Linked DNA regions of Homo sapiens: all the other regions are linked to region 2. Evidence: promoter capture Hi-C in 16 types of primary human blood cells and fetal thymus (Javierre and others, 2016). All regions are on one chromosome and are shown on one strand. Each heading gives the region's core, a stretch centred on a gene start or on the middle of the fragment in contact. The rest is flanking DNA. Distances are from core to core; before and after follow the strand shown. Region 1 overlaps LIN7A (lin-7 cell polarity scaffold A). Region 2 holds the start of PPP1R12A (protein phosphatase 1 regulatory subunit 12A). Region 3 overlaps SYT1 (synaptotagmin 1).

Evidence for each region. Contacts are between HindIII fragments. The CHiCAGO score rates a contact against its expected background, and 5 or more counts as called.
Region 1: a contact is called between a fragment that was not itself captured here and the fragment with the promoter of PPP1R12A in region 2, in 1 of 17 cell types (neutrophils). The highest score is 7.0, in neutrophils.
Region 3: a fragment that was not itself captured here is called in contact with the fragment with the promoter of PPP1R12A in region 2 in 1 of 17 cell types (endothelial precursors); the score reaches 5.4 in endothelial precursors.

The regions. Positions count from the first base shown.
Region 1 is chr12:80,917,263-80,921,680 of GRCh38, forward strand. The region is part of intron 1 of LIN7A (lin-7 cell polarity scaffold A); the gene reads right to left. Among named protein-coding and RNA genes, the nearest start is that of MIR618, 16 kb to the right of the region's middle. The HindIII fragment of the contact is 7,230 bases long and covers 1-4,418 here.
Region 2 is chr12:79,933,456-79,937,787 of GRCh38, forward strand. It overlaps PPP1R12A (protein phosphatase 1 regulatory subunit 12A), which reads right to left and starts at 1,642. Exons shown (of 25, transcript NM_002480.3): 1 at 1,240-1,642. The coding sequence starts at 1,476. It overlaps PPP1R12A-AS1 (PPP1R12A antisense RNA 1), which reads left to right and starts at 1,826. Exons shown (of 2, transcript NR_146535.1): 1 at 1,826-2,099. RefSeq lists enhancers at 462-1,027, 828-887, 1,028-1,591, 1,228-1,527, 1,574-1,868 and 1 more and a silencer at 1,058-1,147. The HindIII fragment of the contact is 9,894 bases long and covers 1-3,003 here.
Region 3 is chr12:79,410,882-79,415,400 of GRCh38, forward strand. The region is part of intron 9 of SYT1 (synaptotagmin 1); the gene reads left to right. Among named protein-coding and RNA genes, the nearest start is that of MIR1252, 6.1 kb to the right of the region's middle. The HindIII fragment of the contact is 704 bases long and covers 1,171-1,874 here.

The DNA.
Region 1 (4,418 bases), core at 1,665-4,164, 990 kb after region 2:
AAACCATGGACCCAATTCCATAAAACCCATCAGGCCAGCCATATTAAGAATATTAGACAATGGGAAGCCACTGAAGATTTGAATGCAAAGGATGACCAGATCAATGTCTCAGGAAATAAAAGCCAAACATAAACTGGCTGTTTTAATACTTAACTCACAATAGCTTCCTTTTAAGTTCAAAAGCCATTTCAGAAATAAGGCTATAGCATCAGTTTAAATGAAAATGGTGCTATTTTTTTCTGTGAGTACATAAAAATGGTATTATAATTTAAAATGTTTGTTTTTTTAAACTTTAAAATAAAATTTGATGCCATTTTATTTGTAAAAGTATCTTTCTTCAATATTCTTATATTTTTAAATAATCTTTTTTCAAATTTACCTATTATTATTTCAGTGTTATGCTCTTAGTTTATAGTTTCTATTCTTTCACAATACATACTTTTAATAATTATAAATATGCTTATTTTATAGTCTCTGACTTTTGTGTCGAGATCTCTCCACTCTTCAAACATAACCTTTTCCCTCCAGATTTCTGTTCCCTTTGCCTGAAACACAGGCCTCATTCACGTGTTGGTTTGTTGTGTACACTGATTCACCTCATATTCTGGCTCCTCCTCATGTGTTTTTAATGTTTAATTGTGAGCACACTTTTGGAAGGGACTGTTTCTTCTATGAGAAACCAGTGTAAATAAATGTTTGAGTGCTATCTTTCGTTTTACCATCTCCAGTATGCCTTGGCCTACAATTCATTTTATGTACATTTCTTTCTTTCATTGTTTTTCTTTTCTTTTTCTTTTTTTTCTGAGACATCATCTCCCTGTGTCATCCAGGCTGAAGTGCAGTGGCACAATCACTGCTCATTGCAGCCTTGATCTCCCAAACTCAAGTGATCCTCCCACCTCAGCCTCCCTAGTAGCTGGGACTACAGGCATGCACCACCAGGCCTGGCTGATATTTTTTTTTATTTATTTTTTAATTTTTTTTGTAGTGATGAGGCTGGTCTCAAACTCCTGAGCTCAAGCGATCCTACCCATGTTGGCCTCCCACAGTACTGGGATTACAGGCATGAGCCACCGTCCCTGGCCTTATGTATATTCCTTGAAAGGTGGATTCCTGAACCAAGTAGGTGGAATATATTTAGATCCCAAACTAGGTAATGCAGTTTGGCTTATGGGCATAATGCAACTCTAATGTCTCACCTCCAGTTCTGTATTGACCTCAGGCATAGGGCTGTCTGGGACCCCTTGCTCCCTTTTCATCTCCCTTCATCTACTCTTACTAAAGTATCAGCTCACACCTCTCCATTCCAGCTTTCAATTTCCCTTTCCCTTTAATTTCAGACACTTGGAGATTCTACTCCCTCATTTTCAATCTAAGCTATAGTTTTTTAATTGTTAAATTTTATCTGGCACATCTTGATATTTGTAATGGAAGAGTTTCTGTGTTGGCTCAGTCTACCATATTAGAGACTCACTTAAAATTCATCTCTAAATTGGATTTTAATTTGAAATATGAGCAAGAACAGAAAAATAGTTTGCATAAGCAAATACAGTCATGGACTACATAACATTTCAGTCAATGAGGAGCTGCATATATGATAATGATCTCATAAGATTATGATACTGTATTTGCACTGTACCTTTTCTATATTCAGATACACAAACACTTATCGTTGTGTCACAACTGCCCACAGTATTCTGTGCAGTCACAGCCTGTACAGGTTTGTAACCTAGGAGCAATAGGCTATACCAAACAGCCTAGGTGTGTAATAGGCTATACTATCTAGGTTTTTATAAGTACACTCTATGACATTCCCACAATAAAATCACCTAATGCTTCTTTTCTCATAGAATGTATTTCCATCGTTAAGGAATGCATGCCGGTAGTTGCTGAGATGTACAAATAAGCACCAAAAATTAACCACGCTACAAAAGTGCTTTCTAAGTCTGTCTTCCCATCTGGGAACACAGTTTCTTACTCTGCTAGGTGAGAATAACTTATAGTTCATATTGTATGAGTTAACGTTGCAAAACAGTAGTAGTAAAAGGGTGTAAAACCCCTCTAAGAGGAGTTGGAAAGTGAACACAGGCTCCCTGACCTGTGGGAGAGCTTGGGAAGAAGAGACAGTGAGTACTATTCCAAATAAGTGAGAAAAATCCAGCTAAAATGTTTAACAAATTCAGGAAGGGCCAACTGTGAGCAGGGATGAGTATATAACCTTTGAGAGTGGCAAGCACTCACTGATTTTTTTCCACAAACTTCCACCGGGTGCTTCCTAGAAAGAACAGATCAGGGTGGAAAACAAGAGGTGTAGACCCATTACAACGGGGAGAAGGATAAAAGCCAAAAACCCTCTATCCCAGGAATGGGGTGGGAAAGAGAGGGCAGGAAACAGTCCTAGTCCTGAAATCCTTTGATAGTATATGTATATTGTTATAGATTTCCTACCACTGGAAAGGGGCAGGGAACTCTCCCACACAAGACTCTCCATAGACAGAAGGCTGAATTTAGTCTGGCAGACCAAAGAAAGGCAGGATCCTGAGAAAGCCCTATGCTTGAGACCCAGACACACAGAGGCTTCCTAAGACTGAGGCTGGACCAGGACAACAGAGAAACACCTTCGTCTCCACCACCAAGCTCATTCACTATCAAGTCACAAGCAATTGCAGTCTACCCCTGGGGGAAGGTAGAGGGCAAAGAGACAGAATCTCTCGGTGACACATGTGCACAGTGGAGCACCTCAAATGGTTAAGTTGAAAGTCAATATAAAATACAACTTCTCTTTTTATTTTTCTTCAATGCTTTATAAGCAGAGGTTGAAAAGTATTAGGCCCATATAGTAAATAGTTCACAGACCAGTCTCCGTCCCAACTATTCAACTCTGCAGCCGTAGCAGGAAAGCAGCCAGTAGACAATTTGTGAGTAAATGAGCGTGGCGGTGCTCCAATAAACTTCACTTATGGATGCTGAAATTTGAATTTAATATGATATCCATGTGTCACAAAATATTCTTCTTTCATGTTTTTCAACTATTTAAATATGTAAAAGCCATTTTTAAGTCTCAAGATATATTTGATATCAGGGCTGTAGTTTGTGACCTCTGGGTTAAGGTAAAATTGGTAGCAATAATTATGGGTTTATAGATACAACAATAGCACCAAAGATGGAAGGGAGCAATGGGAAGTATATTGTTGGTTGTAAGTGATATTATTAAGGAAGACTGTGTTAAATTAAGGATATATACTCTAAACCCTAGGGCCAACATTACAAACAATACAAAAAAGACAGAGCAAAATAGGCAAAGGCTCACATCAACGTTAGATCATTAAAGTATTATTTGAATATAAGCCAATTGATTAGAGCTCCATCACATTTGGAAAATTTACAGTTTACAAAGAGAAAATCTCATCTTTAAACATATTCAGGAGAAACTTTAAAAATATGCATAATTAAATTATATTCTTTAAAGCTCTGAAAATAATGGAGAGTGATCCAAGAGAAGTTTTGAAAACTTGTTAGTACATGAAAGACAGAGATTTCTTAAGGCAGAGAAGAAAAATAAAACTAAGCAAAAAACAGGAATACCTTAATATGTACCATATTAAGTTGTAATATTGGCCAGATAATGCTATCTAGTTCTAATATCCATGTACATCTATCTGGCCTATGGCTAAACTGTTCAGCTACTTAAGACAGAGGATTGCTGAGGCCAAGATCATGTAATGATTGCTACGCTCTCTTAGCTCCAGCTGTGGTATGGCCTGAATGTGTCCCTCCAAAATGCCTATGCTGAAGCCTAATCACCAATGTGATGGTGTTAGAAGGTAAGGACTTTGAGATATGATTAAGTCAAGAGGGCGCTGGAGATTAGGCCTCAGAGAGCTGCCTTGCCCCTTCTACCACGTGAGGACACAGCAAGAAGGTGTCCTCTAAGAACCAGGAAAAACAGGCCCTAAACAGACATGGAATATGCTGGTACCTTGATTTTGGAATTCCCAGACTCCAGAACCATAAGAAATATATATCTGTAGTTTATAAGTGACCTAGTCTATGGTATTTTATTATAGCAGCCCAAATAGACTAAAGCAGACTGCTGTAACAAAATGCCATACACTGAGTGGCTTAAGCAACTGATGTTTATTTCTCATAGTTTTGGAGGCTGGCACTTCCAAGATCAGAGTGCCAGCAGATTCTACCTGACGAGGGTCTTCTTCTGGTTCTGAACAGCAGCCTTCTGGATCTGTCTTCACAAGTCAGAAGTGAGAGGGAGATCAAGTGAGCACAAAGGCGTTGGGGAGGGTGGGAGGGAGCATGCTCTGCTCTCCTCTTCTTAGAAGGCTAATAATCCCATCAGGGAGGCCCCACCCTTCTGACTTCATGGAAACCTAATTACCTCCTAAAAGCCCACCTCAAGTACC
Region 2 (4,332 bases), core at 392-2,891:
AAGTTTTTACTACAACATTATTCAAAATAAGGCTATGCATCTTCCACACACAACCAAGGCAACTTTGAGATAGCTTACAAGTCTTTTCATTGTTAAGGGGAAGCTATCGCTGCAAAGTCATTTTCTATTACAGTTATTCCAAGTTGCCCGCTAAGAAAATAGAAAAAGCCTATGTTTTGTCACCTATTACCGTCACTTAAAAATTGCTTTTTATGCATAACTCTACGTGGTTGTGTTGCTTTTGGCCTGTTAAAGGCAAGGCAACATTATCTCTGGATTGCCAATAGTTTCTCCTTATTTGGCTAACATTGAGAGATCCCAATCAGACTACTATAAAACTTTAATATGCACAAAGCATCCATTTTGAGAAAAGTTTGTGACCAGCTTTCTTTTTTCCCAACCCCAAAAGAAAAACCAGAGCTTGGTAACCGGCTTTGAAAAGAGTGTCCCCTATTTATTCTTCTCTTTCTAACACCAGTGCACACCCGAGGACCTGGGGCTCAAGGATCTCTGACACTGCGGCAAACTTCGAGTATCAGACTCAACACGTTCCGGTCCGGAGGTGGGCAAGCCCTTTAGAGGGCTTCCTTACTCTACCCACTTCCATCCCCTTCCTTTCAGCCGGTGCAGATCAGCTAATTACACCCTGTTTTCCCCTCCCCAGTGACCAAGAGTAATAAATGAGAAAACAGGAAATCGTTCGTTCAGGGCACTCGGCTTAGGGCTCTAGATTACTATTATTATCATCATTTGTAATCAAGTCCTAAAAAGTGCAACAAATCCAATGCCCACCTACAAGTCAAAGATGTTCATCTGCCTAACCGTCCGTAATGCCCCTTGTTAGTTTTCTTCCTTCAGCATCCACCCCTCCGAATATACCACTGACACCGGGGCCCAGGCACAACCCCACTACACCCCTCCTTGTCTCGACCCCAAATCCCAGACTTATCCACGAATGGCCCTGGGGCCCCAAACGACCACAGTTCCTTTTCCCCTATGCCCCGGAAATCACCCGGTTCCCAACTCCACCAGCAACTGTTCTGAAGGGGGGCCTCAAGCCCAGCGCCCTCCCTTCCACCAGCTCTCCCTCCCGCCCTCTGGGGAAACCGCCCCCTCACCCCGCAGCAGGGAGTCTCCCGCCGCCCCCAGCCTCAAGAGGTGGAGAACTGAGGGCAGGCCCGAGCAGGAGGCCGACGAGAACCCTCACGGTCAGGAGAGCCGGCGGCGGGGCGCACAGACCTGGTGCAGGGCAGTGAGTCCGTCCACATTGGCGTAATTGATGTCGGCGCCGCGGTGCAGCAGCTTGAGGACCTCGTCCGTGTCGCCGCTGGAGCAAGCAGCCAGGAAGACGGCGCCATCGTCGAACTTCACCTTGGTCTTCTGGCGCTTCACCACCGGAGGCTCGAGGTCCGTCTCGGAGCCGATCCAGCGTTTCAGCTGCTCGTTCCGCTTCTGCTTCGCGTCCGCCATCTTCATCCCCTCTCCTGCCGCCGGGTCTTCTTATCGCGAGGGGGGGAAGGGGGAGGCGGAGAGGGAAGAGAGGGGAGGCAGGGGGTGTGTGAATGTTTCTATGAGTGCGGGCCAGAGGAGGGCTGGGAACCCGGAGCCGACGCTCGAGACTTCCAGTATCCCACAGAGCACTGGGGCGGCGCACCCGGCCGAGCGGACCTCCCTTCCTACCACAGAAGCCCTCCCGCCCCCAGCACGGCCACCCGTCACCGGCGGCCAATCTAACGTAACTTCGCGAGATCCGGACTGGGAGGCGCCCTTCGACCAGTGCGCATGCGCCCTGGGCCTGTGCCCGCCCCAGGAAGAGCGCTCCCGCGAACTGCGGCGGTGGTGGCTGGGCCACCAGAGGGAAGCGGGTGTGGCCCAGGCAGCGGGGGCTGGGACAGACCTGGAAAGGAGGAAGCGGGGAAGGAAGGTTGTCCTGTCGGGCTGGGGGCTCCCGGGAATCCGGAGGCCAGCAGTGGAACCGCAAGGCTCTACAGGGCAGATCTGCCTCCCGTGCTGTCTCAGCTACGCCGAGTCGTTGGCTCAGGGCGGAGGATTTTCCTATTGGCCGCGTTATTTGAATGGAATGGAGGATAGGTCGTGAAGTAGGTGCTGCTGGTTGATCTTTCTAAGGAACTCAGATGAACTTGGGCATGTCAGAATTAATAACCTTTTAAAAGTGGGGTCTGTGTGGCCGAGGGTTTTAATGGTAAGTTCTTGAGGTGACCACCTATTGACAAGGGTTGACCTGCTGTAATTGCTGTGGCTTCCTGCCAACCCCCACTTTAGAAATGTTTTTCTTCCTCTCTTTACTTGTTTTGTTTTGCTTTCTCTCACGCTTGGGTTCTCTTCTTTCTTCCTTCAGTGCTTTAAGCCTGTCTCGTACTACCCATGAGCTTAGCTCAGCCTGATTACTGGTCCTTACCTTTTAAGGGATTTCTGGTTACAGCTCCATCTCTTTCTAAGGAGGGGTAAAGACCTAGCTGCGTCTAGCATTTAAACGGAACGTTAAGGAAGGCAATTAATTCAACCACTATTTATTGAATACCTACTATGAGCCAGTAACTGTACTAGGCACTGAAGATACAATGAAAAATATGACATTTATTTGAACCACCTCTTGAGTTCAGTCGCCCAAACAAGACTAATTTATCATCGTCATAAAAAAAAGACTTTAACTTTGCCTTGTATGACCACACGCGCACACACATAGGATTTGTAATACTGATGTCTTATGAGCCATCTATCTACAATCTCCACCAATTGATTTTACTGAACACTGCATTGTTACCATCCACTACTATTTTTAGAGCATTTAGAAAAGCCAAGATAAAAACCACAAAACCTTACCATGGAAGTTTAGGGGTCATCTAGACAGAGTCCCTCAAGAACTAATTAATTTACTTAATTTTACCCAGAAGTAGGATTAGAATTCACTCAGCAAATACTATGCACCTGTTCTGGGTCAGGCATTGTTCTAGGTGCTGGAGATAGAGCAGTGAACAAATAAGCTTTTCTTACTCTCAGCATGATGCCTTTTCCAGTGGACTACTTCACAGCCTATCATATTGAGAAATAAAATAATTGAGTAAAACGTGATTAGGAAACTGTCTGCCTGTGAGACAATTTTCTGAACCACAGTTATTAGGATAGCGATAGAATCCAGGTCAGGGTAAAAATATTTCCTCTGAAAACGTTGTAGGAATAGAAAATGAATGTAATATTCATAAGATATACCATTGTATGTTCATTACATACATTAAAGATAACATCAGACCTTTGAATACTCATGGTGTTAGGTACTGAAAAACATTGTTAGCACTAAAATACAAAATCCCTATCCACAGAATACAGCTCTCAGAATAAAAGAAAGGAACTTGAGGATTGCCTTGTCAGCTCCTGTCTCTACCTAGGCAACTGACAGCATATCCTGTTTTCCAAGAACGTTATGGCCTATGTGGTAGCTCTTAAAGTGCCCTTGCAGTATAGATGGGAATCTGAAGATTTCATTCAGGCAAAAGGAATTTAGTGGGAAGTATGCTATTCCTGATTCAAGCACTTATTTCAGGATGCAAAATTAATAATAGTTTATTAATAAAACATAATTAAGTTCATTCAGTTCCCAGAAGCTGTCAGGGAAAAAACAACCAAGGAGGGCTGCTATCATGTGCAAATTTCACTGAATTTAGTTTTTCTTCTTTCGTGGCTCTAAGGGTCAAGATGCTCTATGTTAATATTGAAAGTACTCTGAAACTGCCACCTACTTTGTCTTTAGGGAGGATTTTTTTTAAATTGTTGTTAGTGAATTAATGGTACTGAAGACCTTGGGTTAATTCTAGAACAAGCAAAATTTTTTATTGACACACACAGTCCCAGCACAGTGGCTCACACCTGTAATCCTATCACTTTGAGAGGCTGAGGCGAACTCTGCCCAGGAGTTCGAGGCTGCAGTGAGCTCTCTGCACTACAACCTGAGCGACAGAGCTAGACCCTATCTTTACCAAAAAAAAAAAAAAAAGACACACACACACACACACATGCTTTTATTACATATTTGTCTAAGCAGAACAAATGGAAAAAATGCAAATATTTTCACTTCCTAATGGCTTCTAAACAGATTGGGATGTGAGGATACATTTTAGCTCCTTTAAAGCAAATTAAGCCTTAAAATAGAAGTACAAATAAAACTATACTTACTAATTTGCATATATGTATATATAAAAATATATTTTTGGCTGCACCAAATCAATCATATTGGAGGTTTTTGTTTCTGAGACAGGGTCTCACTCTATCGCTCAGGCTGCAGTGCAGAGGCATGATCTCAGCCTCCCAAGTAGC
Region 3 (4,519 bases), core at 273-2,772, 520 kb before region 2:
GTGTAGATGTGAAAGTGTGGTTTTCATAATGCTCCAAATATTTTCTTTTTCTGGATAACTTATTTTAAGGAGCCCTTCAGTAAACAGTTCTGATTTGACAGCAATAACCAACCACAAACACAATTAGTCAGTATATTAGATAAGCCCGAGATTGGTTGAAGAATAATGCAAACCTCAAAATAACAATGATGTAAATGACATAGAAATTTATTTCTCTGGAATATGAAATAATGTAAAGATAAGCAGTCCAAAGCTGACATGGGGTCTTCATCTATCACAAGGAACCTAAGCTGCCGTCTTTCTCTTCTGCCGTCCTCAGCATATGGCTTTCATGCCATGGACCTGTGTGGCACATGAGGCTCCAGACAATGAAGAGAAAAAGGGAAAAATAAGTGTGAACCTATGTCCTTTACTGAAAGTCCCACATAGTACTTCCACTTACATCTCGATGGTCATGAATCTAGTCTTGACCACCTGCAAGGGAAGCTGGGAAATGTAGTCTTTTATTGTAGGTGGCAATGTGCCCAGCTAAAAATTAGGGTGCTAAAACTAAGGGAAGGAGGTGAAATGGGTACTGAAGGAGGCAACACCTAGTTTTGGTCATGGTCAGGTTCTCTGGCTCCTTGACTTGCTATCATTGTCAGATCATACAGTGACTTAGCTTTCCATGCATATTCATATTTATTTATATAAATCAAACCTTTTGTGTTTTACTAACATAAATATAAATATTTGAAACAAACATAAATATATGTGTTTACATAGAAATATATATGTAATTGTAGAAATTTTGAAATGTAGATAATTAGAAAAAAGTGCTAAGCAATCATAAAACTCACCACCCAGAAATAAGTGCAGTTAATTTTATGGTACATTTTTCCAGGTTGATTTTCATATACACATGTGTATCTATATACTTCTCTTAATACAATTGAAACATACAAAGCACATCATTTTTAACCTCTTTTTTTTTTAGCAATGATATATTGAGGCGTCCTTCTGCACCAATATTCTTTTCAACATTGTTTTAAATTGCTATAGATCATTTCATGATATCATTCCACAATTTAACCAACGTCCTATTGTTGGCATGGCGAGTCTGTACAGGTCTGAAATGTTACAGTAGATAGCTAGTCAGACATGAACAGGGCAGTAGAAAGTTTATTAAAAAGCTTTAGAGCAGAAAGAAGTAAAGTACACTTGGAAGAGGGCCACACAGGTGACTTGAGAGATCAAGTCCACAGTTTGACCTTTTGATTTGGGGTTTTATACACTGGCATGCTTCCTGGGTCTTGTGTCCCTTCTGCCATGATTCTTCCCTTGGGGTGGGCTGTCCGCATGCACAGTGGCCCGCCAGTGCTTAGGAGGAGCCAGCCACATGCAGAGTGTGTTTACTGGAGTTGTATGCATGCTTACTTGGGGCACTCTTCCCTTACCAGTCAAGTGTCCCTATAAGGTAATATACCAGTTAAACTCCACCATCTTGCCTCTTAGTTTGCATGCTTCAGCCCATTCGCCCAACTCCTGAGATCTTATCAGGAAGCTGATCACTAGTCTCAGGTTTTTCTATGTATTGGGAGACTACTTTCCCTGGGGCTGGCTGCAACCAATTATTATTTTAGAGAGTCAGTTAATAATTGCCTGACCATCATCTGATGGTTGCCTGACATTCCTGGGTGGGGGACGGGACGATGGTCTCTCCTGTCCTGCTCATGTCTGACCAGCCACCTACTGTAACACTATTGTTAATCATTTTGAGTTTTTCTGTATTATAAACCACACTGCAATTAACATCTTTGTTACTAAATCTTTGTTCATATCCACAATTACTTTTAGAAGATAGTTTTTCTGATCAAATAATATGCATATCTTAAAGCTTTGATATGCCAAATTCCTCTCCAGAAAAATTAACGTTTTACATTGTTACCCTACTATCTGAGTATATGCCAATACTTTTGCTCAGCAATAAACATCATATAATTTTTTTAAATTCTTTACCGATTCAATAGACCAAAACATCAGCCTCAGGTTAACTATGCCTTTGATCACTACTGAAGTGGAACATTTCCCCTGCCTTTATATTTAGCCTTTTTTATTATTGTGGAAAGATATGAGAGGAGAGAAAGAAGCTCATGGGCTCAAATTTGGAAACACTAACTTCAGACTGAAAGGAAAAAGCCTCTGGTTCTGAAGATAAGTCATGTATGCTAACTCAGAATGGCAACATAAAAGGAGAGGTTATCCTTCCATTTCAAGAGGCAGTCAATGAAGTTGTCACCTGACCTCTTCCAATAAGGTACCCAGATATTTTCCTCCTTTGAAGAAAGAAGCCACCATGATCTTGGCTCGCATTGTGTTGAGTTTGAAGGACACTGCTTCATATGTGATTTATGGGTTTTCTCCCAGCACAGTTTTTCCCTTGACTTGACTGTCAAGCTCTTGTCTCTGTAGAGTGGCAAGTGAAAATATTCCAAGGGGCTCAAATTTAATTCAAGTAGTCAATAAACCACAAGATCTGTCTGCTCAACTATTTTCATACCAAATAGGATACTCCCCATCTAAATGTGTAACTGAGCTGAAAACAACTTTGTGCCTTTAAATATCTGATGTTGTGTCATGTTTCACTACATTTAAAGCCAATACAGTAAGTAGCCAGATCACAATATGCCAAATAGCTGTTTGTAGCATTTCCTGATATTTGCTAAGTAGAGAATTTCAAATACCCTAGGCACATTCTATTTGTGAATGGGATGATATATTTTCTTGCTTCTGTGTTGTATAAAATACTCTGGAGTAGTTAATTCTTTGCAAGTTTTTAAACCTTTCCTCATGGTCAAAAGCTAAATCATAAATCAAGAATTAATGTAAGAGAAAGTTTGAATACTCTCTCTTAATTCCCAGTTAGATTATCAGGACAAAACTTCAGGTAATTGCATGCCTAAATAGTAAGGTACAAATAAAAACAGGAAGAAAAAAATAATCCTCTAACAGCAAAATCAAAAATTAAATATTGAACCATAACTCTCTTTTCCTCTATAAGCCTAACAGTTCTTTTCCATATATGTAAGGAAGGCAAATATGCATTTTTTGTTTACAATTTAGGCTGGGACTGCTACAGTGACTCACCTGGAGTACACCCCAATGAAAATTTAGTGGGCAATAACACAGAACACCATGCCCATAAAATTATAAAACATTATTGGGGTTTGCCCATCCTCCAATTGTCTTGCTGAAGTCTATTTTTCTTCCTCTATAGGAGAAGCTATTTAGAGTCAAGCATCATTAAATCAAAATGCAAAGGAAGGAGAAATTGAATGTGGGTTAATTGCATTCTGAATGCAACTGAACCGCAGTTGGTACAAATTACTGGCCTATAAGAATGCATTGTGCCTACCAGGAAGACAAGTATTTTGGTGAAGCCGGAGTATGGGTGTGTACCAGGAAGTGGCAGCAGATGAGGATTCTGAGTGTGTTTGTGTGTGTGTATGTGTGTGTGTTGGCAGGTGGGGACACATTAGATCCTTGTATGTTGTACTAAGCAGTTGGTACTTTGTCCTGAAGCATAGCTCTCCCAGGAGAATTGCAGCTACTGTCCAGGAGGATCCCAGTCTATGCAATTTGGCACACTCTGTGTAATCTTCTCTCCTTTATCGCACAAAGAAGTCCTATACCTGCAATCTTGCTAGAGAAGTAAAACCTGTATTCCTTATCAGTAGATCTACAGGGTAATAAAGGGAACACTATGATGGGAGCAGCTGTAATGGAATTGAAGACCTCTTTCTTCTTGGCATCAACTGCCTGAAGATAAAAGGAATACAATTAATATAAATAAAGGGCAGAAAGGCACTGACTCTAAGGCAATGAAATTTTGTAATAGGAGTGGAAAGAAAGCAGAGATGAATGAGGGCTACAAGAATCACAACAGGCTCCTGGGAGGAGGTGATACTTGCTGTCCCTGCCAGATGTAAAGCATAATTTTCAGGGTCCTCAAGAATTAAGTGGCAATAGGACTCAAAAAACCATTTCTCCAAAAGGAATATAGTGATGTGCAAAACAGACAAATCTCTGGTCTCATGGCTCACCACAGAAAACACAGGTACTTGTATTTTTTTGCAGGGCCTTGTTAGGTTACCTGTACCCAAAGGATTTAGGTAACTCTTCCTTTATATATTTTCCATTTTATTTATTTATTTATATAGAATTATTTGCTTGCTTATTTACAATTTGTTTGTTTGTTTAAATTATAAAAGTAATATGTGTTTATGACAGAGAAGTAAAAACAGACCAGAAGTATAAAGTTTCTCTCTCCCCTGCCCTACCCAGTCCTTCCATTAAGAGATAACCAATGTTAAAGTGTTGCATGTGCATCCTTTCAGAAATTTTTCATACATGTGCAAGCATAGATTTATGTTATATATAAATATTATCACACTATTTTACTTTTTCATGTAACTGCTGTAGTGATAGCACCATAATGCTGGTATAAAAGGGACTCCACCAGGGCAATCTGGTTGGAAAG